2 separate regions of the Homo sapiens genome follow, and region 2 is linked to region 1. Evidence: promoter capture Hi-C in 16 types of primary human blood cells and fetal thymus (Javierre and others, 2016). All regions are on one chromosome and are shown on one strand. The core of a region is centred on a gene start or on the middle of the fragment in contact, and the rest is flanking DNA. Distances in the headings are between cores, read along the strand shown.

The links. Contacts are between HindIII fragments. The CHiCAGO score rates a contact against its expected background, and 5 or more counts as called.
Region 2: a fragment that was not itself captured here is called in contact with the fragment with the promoter of YTHDC2 in region 1 in 1 of 17 cell types (fetal thymus); the score reaches 5.4 in fetal thymus.

What each region holds. Positions count from the first base shown.
Region 1 is chr5:113,510,931-113,515,729 of GRCh38, reverse strand. YTHDC2 (YTH N6-methyladenosine RNA binding protein C2) reads right to left here and starts at 2,036. Exons shown (of 30, transcript NM_022828.5): 1 at 1,648-2,036; 2 at 368-458. The coding sequence starts at 1,834. LOC124901046 (a long non-coding RNA gene) reads left to right here and starts at 2,072. Exons shown (of 2, transcript XR_007058905.1): 1 at 2,072-2,299; 2 at 2,790-3,871. RefSeq lists a silencer at 1,551-1,780 and enhancers at 1,733-2,234, 2,231-2,280. The HindIII fragment of the contact is 3,291 bases long and covers 55-3,345 here.
Region 2 is chr5:115,173,472-115,178,270 of GRCh38, reverse strand. It overlaps a transcript of TRIM36 not described here. Among named protein-coding and RNA genes, the nearest start is that of TRIM36, 6.0 kb to the right of the region's middle. The HindIII fragment of the contact is 2,882 bases long and covers 603-3,484 here.

The DNA.
Region 1 (4,799 bases), core at 787-3,286:
TGAGTTACTATCGAGTTCTCCCCTATGTATGCATGATGCATGTCTTAATAAGCTTATGTTTTTCTCTTGTTAATATGTCTTTTATCAGTCTAATTTGCAGGGTCCCAGCCAAGGAACCTAAGCTGGGTAGAAGAAAAAGCATTTTCCTAGGGAAAAACAAAACAAAACAAAAAAGGGGGGAAGAGGTAGACAGAGGGAAGAGGAAAGAGTTGAATTTGGTACAGACCTGAATCTTTTATCTACATATGATACAATTAAGAATGTGAAGTTAAAACAGTAATAAGTACTTAAATGTACTCAGAAACGTTTCTCCCTTTTTTGGGCAAATAATCTTTTTTAAAAAAAATAAGAAAAGCTACCAGCTTACCCTTTACTTTTAGAGACCAAACCAAGAGACTGACTGAGTCGATGAATAAAGGCTCTTTCAGTACTGGTCAAAGAAGAAGGAAATTCCATTTCTACACGGAAAAAAAACAAAGTAGTAAAATTTGTAGATAGGCAATTTTCTCTCAAGTAAAACACACAGATACAAAATATGAAAAACATACATAGACAATCAAATTTATTATACTTTATTTGAGGTTAACTTTATATTTCATATTCTATTTATGTAAATTAATAAAATTAAGATATTTTATTAATTCAATAACTACTGAATGTCTATCAGAATTCTGATATTAATAAAAAGACAGCTATGTATTAAACCTAAATGTGATAAAGGCCTCTGATATTCACCAAAAACGACTCCTCTTACTTGTTCTGGAATTTTGAGTTGGTATAATGACTGAACATATTTAACTTGGTCCCTACTTGTTTAGTTAACAAAATGTTTATTTTCTTCAATGATGAGATATGTTCAAATATTATGAATTCTCAACATGAAACTCCATTGTCTTTGCTTTCAAAACTGTACAGAATTCGTATTTCACTATTTCAGAGGGATTTGTTATATATTGCTGAGGCTTTCTCTTTTTTTAATGTGAATTTAGAATCTCTCTGTCTAGAACATTCCCCGTTTTGGACTATAAGATTCCAGAGTAAGAGGTCCCCTAACTAAGCCAGCAGGTCCGAATGAGCCCTCAACAGACTGCACAGGTCACCGCAGGTCAGTTGCTGGTTCTGCATTATATGACCCAAGACAAGTGGCTATCTAACCTCAAGAGGTGTGGAAGATGCTTCGTGTGCCAAACAAGTTTAATTTAAGTGGGTAGCGTGATGCTTCAGGGTCCAAACGTATTGCTGGTGCATTTATTTATATGTTTGATTTCTTTCTGCTCTTCTACATCTGTAGCTTAAACGTGCCACAATTAGGTGACACCCCCTTAAAAAGGGTTAGGGCTAACCAATATCTGAAACACGGTGGCTTAACCGCCCAAGGCTGCTGAAAGACGCGGGGGAAAAACACTTTCAGCTAGGGAGCAAAGTGCCCATAACCCCATTGATCCGCAGAGCACCTCGCATTCCACCGCAGGGCCAACAGCCGCGTTCCAGACCCGGGTGCCGCCGCTGAGGCCCGCCCCGGACGGTGGCCCGGGTCTTCCCTCCCTCTTCGGAGGCACCCCCATCACTCGGTGGGCCGCCGTTTGGGGGGCGCTGGGGTGAGGGGGGTATCCTGACTGCCAGCATGGTCCCTGTCCGGAACCTCACCTCTCTGGTCCCCGTATCGGAAGCGCTCCAGCGCGATATTGACTGCGATCTTCACCTCCTCATCAATGCGAATGTCCTTCAGCCCCTTGGCCCGGCCGCCGCCCCCAGGGCCACAAGGCGAGGGGCCGCCGCCTCCGCCACCGCCAGGAGCCGGCTGCCGCGGGGAGACGCTGCTCGGCCTGGACATTGCCCTGAAGAGATGGTCTCTCCGCACGGGAGCGGCCAGGCCTGCTAGCTGACAGCCAATGACAAAGACCGTGGGAATCCGGGGCCACTACCGGGAAGCTCCGGAGACGGCCTGTGTTGGGCTGAGGTCACCAGAAAGGCCTCAGTCACCGCCACAGCAGAAGTGAAGCCTGCGCCATTGATATCACGGCCAGGCGAGGAGCGCGGGCGTAATGACGTCACCAGGGCCGGCGCCCGTGACCTCAGCGCGGCCGCCGCTGCGCGCCTAAAGGAGGCTGTCTGCGGAGCTATGGTGCGGTTCTCTTCCCGCGCCGCCCACCAAGGGTCGCTCCTCATCTTCTTATTCACTCACTTGCTACTTCGTTTAGTCCTTCATTAATTCCTGCAGTAAGCATGTATGGGCTTCTACTGTGGACCTGGCATTATGCCACGCCTTCGATGTACATTGGAGAACCAGAGAGCCAAGGTTCCTACCTTCATGGAGTTTATATTTTAGTGGGAGGAGGGTTGCCAGATTTAGCAAATAAAAATACAGAATGCTTAATAATTTGCATTTCAGATAAACGAATAATTTTTAGTGTATATATTTCCCATGCAATATTTGGAAAAATATCATAAAAAATACATATACTAAAGAATGAGCCACTGTTGTGTGTCTTGCATTCTTCCCTTTTCTGAATGGGAGATTTTAATGCAAGTATGCCACCCTTGCTCTATCACGCTACACAGGGTAGCTGAGTGGGGGCAGGTATGTAGTACATATTTACATAGTTCATGAGTTACCTGGCAATGAGGATATACATCTGGATCTAATAAAGAGGACTGTGTATCAACAACAGATCCTGGATGCAGTGACTAGATAGAATTCCAGGTGTCTGGGGAGGGTATATGTGTATTCTGTGTGTGGTAAGAAGGGGGCGGAATATTTGGTGACAAGAAGTATCTTTTCTTCCTAGGCATTATATTTCCCAACTCTCCTGCAGTTAGCTGGGGGCCACATGGCTGAGTTCCGGCCATTGGAATGTTGCTGGAACTGATGTATACCACTTCCAGGATTGGTCTATAACACCTTCCTTGAATCTTCCCTTCTCTGTCTTTCCTGGTCTTCTGGAAGTTCTTAGACAACGGTGGAACCACTAGATAGATAACAGGTTCCCGATTCCCTGAACGAGTGTGATAGAGTGTCCTCACCAACCCACATTGGAATATGACATGGGTAAGAAATAATTCTTAGTTGTGGTAAACTGCTGAGATTTGGGAAGATTTTTTTTTGTAACATTATGGTAAATTGTTGAATTCATCAAAGGTATGGCCTTTGATGAATCACACATTCCTCTGTTCACACCCTTGTATTCTTCCTTCCCACATGGACTCTGTCTTTGGCTATGTAACTTGCTTTGGCCATTGGGACATCAGCAAATACGAGATAAGCAGGGGCTTGAAAGGTGTTTGTGCATTAAGGCTTAGCCTGTTTTGCTGCTGAGAATTCTTCTTCCACAAAGTAAAGAAGCTTAGGCTAGCCCACTGACAACTATGGCCCAATCATCCACCAGCACCAAGGGCAAGACGTGAAAAAGGCCATAATGGAAAGTCTAGTCTTAGAAAAGCTGCTGGATGACCACAACTCTGTAAGCAACCCAAAGCAAGATTAGCAAAACCACCTAGCTAAACATAGTCCAAACTGTTGACCCACAGAACACATAAACAAATAAAATGAATATTGCTGTAAGCCACTAAGTTTTAGGTTGGGTTTCTTACACAGCAGTAGATAACTGATACAAAGAGTTAGCTTATTCTGACTAATATATTTGTACAATGATAAGGCTGATCTTGGGCATAAGTGACTAGGCTGAAAGAACTAGCTTCACCCGTTCCAGTTTGTACCCAGTTGCCTAAGAACTGGGGTCATCAACATCTTGATATGCCTGTAAACAACTTGTGGCATACGAGCATGCCACAGCACAGTGGTCTGGAGACTGCTCTCTTCTCATCTATAAAATTGACCTGGTAGAGTAATAAAGTCTTAAAATATAACCAACATGATTTTATTATTGATGCTAGGGATATTTCCTCCCACCCTTTGCCCCCTCATCACCCCTACTTTGCCAGCCCTCCATCCCTTTCTCTCTTGTTCAGCCAGGTCATTTAGGGGTTATTATTTGGGGAAATATTGTCTTAAGTTGGTTTCGGTTCTCTGGAACTGGAAAAAGTCACATAGTAATACACCAGTAAGTTGCCAAAAAGGATCCTGAGCCCTGCTTCTCTTGGGGAGAACAAAACAAAAACCCTGAATGGTGTGGGAGATCCTGGAACAGAATGGCCTGTGCTACTTTCCCAAGGGAAGGCCAGAGAGGCAGCTCAGGAAAGAAGGTAGTGTGGTGTGCCTAGGCAGGTGAGGCGCAGTGTGGTATAGAGCAGCAAAGGGTTCCTGGTGCCCAAGAGGTGTCCAGAATTGGCAGAGATATGCCAGACCTGAAGGAATCGCACAGTTGAGAATAAGCAATGAATGACTTAACGGTGACTTATGTTGTTTGACCACCAAGGATCAGAAACTCTTTCCCACACTTACTGATGCCTTGATACTCCGTAAGTCCCCCAGAACTTAAAAGCAAGCCTAGGCAAGAGTGGCAGCCCCTGAATTAACTGAGGTTAATTACAGAGAAACTAAGTTCTTTCATATCTAAATCTATGGAATAAAATTTGTACTTAAGTAATTGTAAAACTACTTCCAGCGCTATCATTTTATATACATATCATAATATAGATGCCAAAAATTGGTATTTTTCTATACCCTGTATATGTGTCTACCTGTCTACACATTAATCAGCTTCAATGTATATTAATATGGTTAGCCACAAGGTGACACTAGAAAGCTATCTTTTGCTTATGGTTCTAGGTCTTGACCGTCATTGATTTTCATAAACGGCTTCTATGAAGTATTGTATTAACAGTAGTAATCCCTTCCA
Region 2 (4,799 bases), core at 794-3,293, 1.7 Mb before region 1:
ATAGGATGATCGATAGGTGAATTTTGTCCTATGGCGCTCAGATATTCTTCAAAGTAAGCCAGAATTGTATTAGTTGGCTATGCTTTCCTTCAATAGCAGACAAATCCTGAAATTCTGAGAGAATAATTTCGGGGTAGGACCCAGGGATTTGCATGTGAAGAACAGCCCAGGTGACCATGAAGCCGACTGATGGATGTCCTATGAACACGAAATGGGGAAGTAGGGCAGAACCATTAAAACTCCTTATAATCAAGTCAGGTAAACAAAAACAAAACCCTCTCAGAATACCAATGGGTTCATCACAGTATGCTCACTATAATGAAAAAACACAAACTAACTTTCTGGCTTCATTTACTGGATTTCTCTGCTCTCTCTCTCTCTGTCTCTCTCTTCACTAGGCTTCAGCAATGGGCCTGCAGCAAACCCATGAGCATTCCCGGTTGACTTCTAAAGGTGGAGAGGCCCGCTGTCCCTTTGAAATCTCTGAGGTTGGAAAGCAGTCTCTCCCAAGAAGAACTTAGGACAATTCCTCTCTCTGTTTTGTGGGGGTTGGAGGGGGAGAGTTGGTCTGGAGTAGGCTCCTAACCATTTCAACGTAAGCTTATTTCCTACCACTCTCCTCAGGCTCAAATCCTGCCCCGCCCCGCAGCCCCAGCACTAGCCCATTTAAGACCCCTGTTTTGTGTGTGATTATACAGGATTTGAACACTGAATATTAACCATGGAATAGCAGACCTTTGAGACTGACTTGCTTTATTTTCCTCTGTGGGGTTCGGTTCCACTTTGTAGTTCGGGTTTGTAATGTAAAGAATAATGGGAAACTGGTCTAATTATGAGAGTTAAGAGAGTAGAGGCCTGTAGTTGGCCTGCCCTCCGCCCCACCATCCCTCAAAGTTGAGACCACTGAGTTAACCATCCTCTTAATTTCTCTCACTTTTCCCCCAGATTTGTTTCATCCTTGTACTGGACTTCTCAAGCTCTGTACATAATTAAAAATACATAGCTTTACATTTTTACAAACTTAATACCTGGAATATATGCTTGTTGTAAAGTATTCAAACTTCACAGAAAGGTTCACAGAGTAAAAAGTCTAAGTTCATGCCCACCTCCAATCTCATTCCTTCCCCAGTGGCAGCAGTTTGTGTGTCTATTTCAAATTAAATTAGCATACCGTATGTTCTCTGAAATGTGGGAAGTAAGCCTTTTTTCTTAGGGTAACCTAAAACCTACAGGACAAACTGGATCAGCTTATTTACTCTATTGTGATGGCTACTTTAATATTTAAAGTACACAGTGATATCTGCCATTGTGACCTTTCTGCTCATCAAACAATACTGCATAAGTGTAGTTAATACTTACGATCATTCTCAAGAGGCTTAAAAATGAAAATGTATTTCCTTACATTTCACTAGCAGTGAAACTTTTACCATTTCTGAAAGCTGTCTTTTCGCTTCTTTTGCAGCTAATCTCTTTGGATTAAAAGAGAGGTTTCCAAATCTGTGGTCAATATCTAAGGTTACTCAAAGCAGTATTTTCCAACTGTTTTGGTCTCTTGTAAGATTTGCCTCACTAATTTTTTTATCACCGCTTCTGGAATCATATAATGAAGATTTGATGACAAGGAATATAGAATTCAAATTTTAGTATATCTCTTTGTATTTTGTGTATTTAGCATATTTACATTTATGTGTAAATAGCCAGAAGGTACATTCGGTTCCCATAATTTAATATTTACTGTTCAGGCACATCTAAGAGCATAATGGTTTCAGCAAAATAAGAGAGGCTTTGTAAATCTTATATTTAATTTTGATACTGAAATAGGCAATGATACCATTACTTGGTGAATTATTTTAACTTTGAACATCTTTGAGGCACAAAAAATTCAAGAATTTTTACAAACACAAACTTTACCTTAAAAAAAGAAGACACTTACACTCTGAAAGAATTAGTCTTGGAAAGTCCTCAAATCTAGACTAATAAAAGGTCTTAAACATCTCCTGGGACCAAAACAAAAATACCACCAAATGATCTCTTTCAGAAGGACGAATAGATAGTTGCTCACACAACTAAAATCTAAACTGGGGTGATAATGGTAAGGTTGTGCCCACTGCATAAGTATTTTTATTTTTATTTTTATTTTTTTTTGAGACACAGTTTTACTCTGTTGCCCAGGCTGGCGTGCAGTGGTGCAATCTCAGGCTCACTGCAACCTTCACTTCTGGGTTCAAGCGATTCTCCTACCTCAGCCTCCCTAGTAGCTGGGACTACAGGCACACGCCACCATGCCCGGCTAATTTTTTGTATTATTAGTAGAGACAGGGTTTCGCCATGTTGGCCAGGCTGGTCTCGAACTCCTGACCTCAAGTGATCTACCTGCCTTAGCCTCCCAAAGTGCTGGGATTACAGGGGTGAGCCACCGCATCCGGCCTACAAAGTATTTTTTAAAGGTTTTTTAAATATATGTATTGAAATTGGGTGAAATGTATGTGCTGTGGGGAGTAGGGAAGGCAGGCAGAAGATTTAGATTTTTGTAATATCATTTGAAAAGAGCTACTTTCATAAATATAATTTTCCTCTTATTTTTTTTTACTATATTGCGCTAAAGATAATTTGAAAAAAAAAGGTGTCTCCTAAACTACTTTGTAAAAGGATGTTTAAATCAGATTTTTAGTGAAATTGTAAATTCTGTGTTGTATACTCACCTGTGGGCAGTGCAATAAGGATGCTGGACTGAGACCCAGGTTTGAATCCTGGCTTTTTAGTATATGGCCATGTAGTATATAGCCCATAGATTAAGCATATTACTTAATCTATGGGCGGAGGTGGAGAGGAATTTTAGTTGTTACATGTCTTCTCTGAAAAGAATTATACCTATTTCACAGGGTTACTGCAAGGGTTAAATGAATCTTTTATGCAGGTTTCCTAATACTGTTATCGACACATCATAGGCCCTCAATAAATGAAAGCTATTACTTCTAGCTTTTATGACAACAGGGTTGGGCCTTGAGACACCTTATATCCACATTGTGATCATTAAGAAGTGGAGGTAGGGCTGACAGATAAAATACAGGATGTAGACTTGAATTTGAATTTGAGATAAATACTTTTTTTTTTTTTAGAATATGTGCAATGTGATATTTGGAACATATACTAAAAAATTATCATGTATCTGAAATTCCAATTTAACTGGGTGTATTGTGTTCTTATTTACTAAATCTAGTAACCCTACAGGGAAGAATAATAAGATGTGGTCAACAGAGAGGGACCTGCTAGATTGCCTCAAAATATTACCAGTTTTGTTTACCTCAAGTTGGCCAGAAAACTTCTTTGCCCACTAGTTATGCAGCTAATACACTCATCATTAATGGAAAAATGTCCGTGAGAGCAGCACTGGGTTCCTCTCATCTTCCTAATAGCAAATTGTTGCTCTGGTGCTACTGTTTAGTAGATAAATGCTTACTAGATTTTGTCTTAAATAAAAGCTTAAATGGTCGAGAAGACAAAACATCAAACATCAGTGTACAAAGACTAGGTATTTGTGTTAAACTGAGTGCTAAAAGAATTCAGAATAGAGGGAGATAATCAATGAAATCAAAACTAATAAAGGAGGCTCCAGAAGTGCAACTTGAAAGATGAGGAGGATTTGGCCAGGTAGTGGAAATCTGAACTTGCTGGCTCTCTGGACTCCTCTCCCCTGACTTTGTTCCCATAGAAACACTTTATGACTGGTAAGCTTGGCCTGTCAGTAGCTTGAGTCAATAATTGATAGACAATACCATTCATTATCCCTTTACTGGTAACCTCCTGATACCCAGCAGTATAGGTGGTCCGTGTGCCAATCTACTGGAAAACCCTGTAATTTACTTTATTTCTGTACTTTTTATTTTCTGTAAGTCCAGGTGCTCTCTTGATTTTATACCTATGGCTGCTTAATTATTAGGGGTTCCCAAAAGGGGGCAGAGTTTAGGGAATATGTGGCCATATTACCTTGTTTCTATTTCTTGTTTAGTATATACCAATAGAATGGTGGTACCCTGCCTGTCTGATCTCAGAGCAAACCAATTAATATGCACCATGGTCATTAGGACTTGACCCAGCCATGAATTTAATCTCTTGTTGGGTATTAGGAATCAATATGGAAAAAGACCAAGTCAGCTTATGGAGTAGTATATGATTTATAGGGTAAGGGGTTTATATTTTAAATATCAAGCAATGAACATTGATTGAGGCTCTGTTTTATCAAAGCCTGAATTGTGTGTGTTTGGAGAGGGGAATCTTGACCTTTTGGACTTCATGAAGTAGATGGATGTGAGAGAGCTCATGCCCCTGTGATAGAAGAGCAATTAAGTAATACCAGAAGTAGAAAAGTAGATATCACAATGAAGGCAAGAGTATTGAAGGTCTGTGGACTTAGGGGGATAAGAATAGGATAGGTTTTCTTGTTTTGCATTTTAACCCAGATTTTAAAATAAACTATTGAAAAAGGAGGTGCTAGGATACTCCAAACTGCGGAGGAATAGGCACCAAGGGACAGCATATACAATGTAAAATAGGGGAATAATGATTTTTTTAAAGTTCAGATATTTCATGCCATTCCTGCTAAAAAGCCTTCAAAAGCTGCTCAACATCTACAAAAGCATAGAGGCCTTCCATACTTTACCAGACTTATTTTGTTACCACAGGTTTACCACCCTCTAACTCCTGCTCTTCAACACATGCGTGCGCGCACACACACACACACACACACATTCAAATACACATGTCCACACACCCCCCACCCCCTTATGTTCCAATACCAA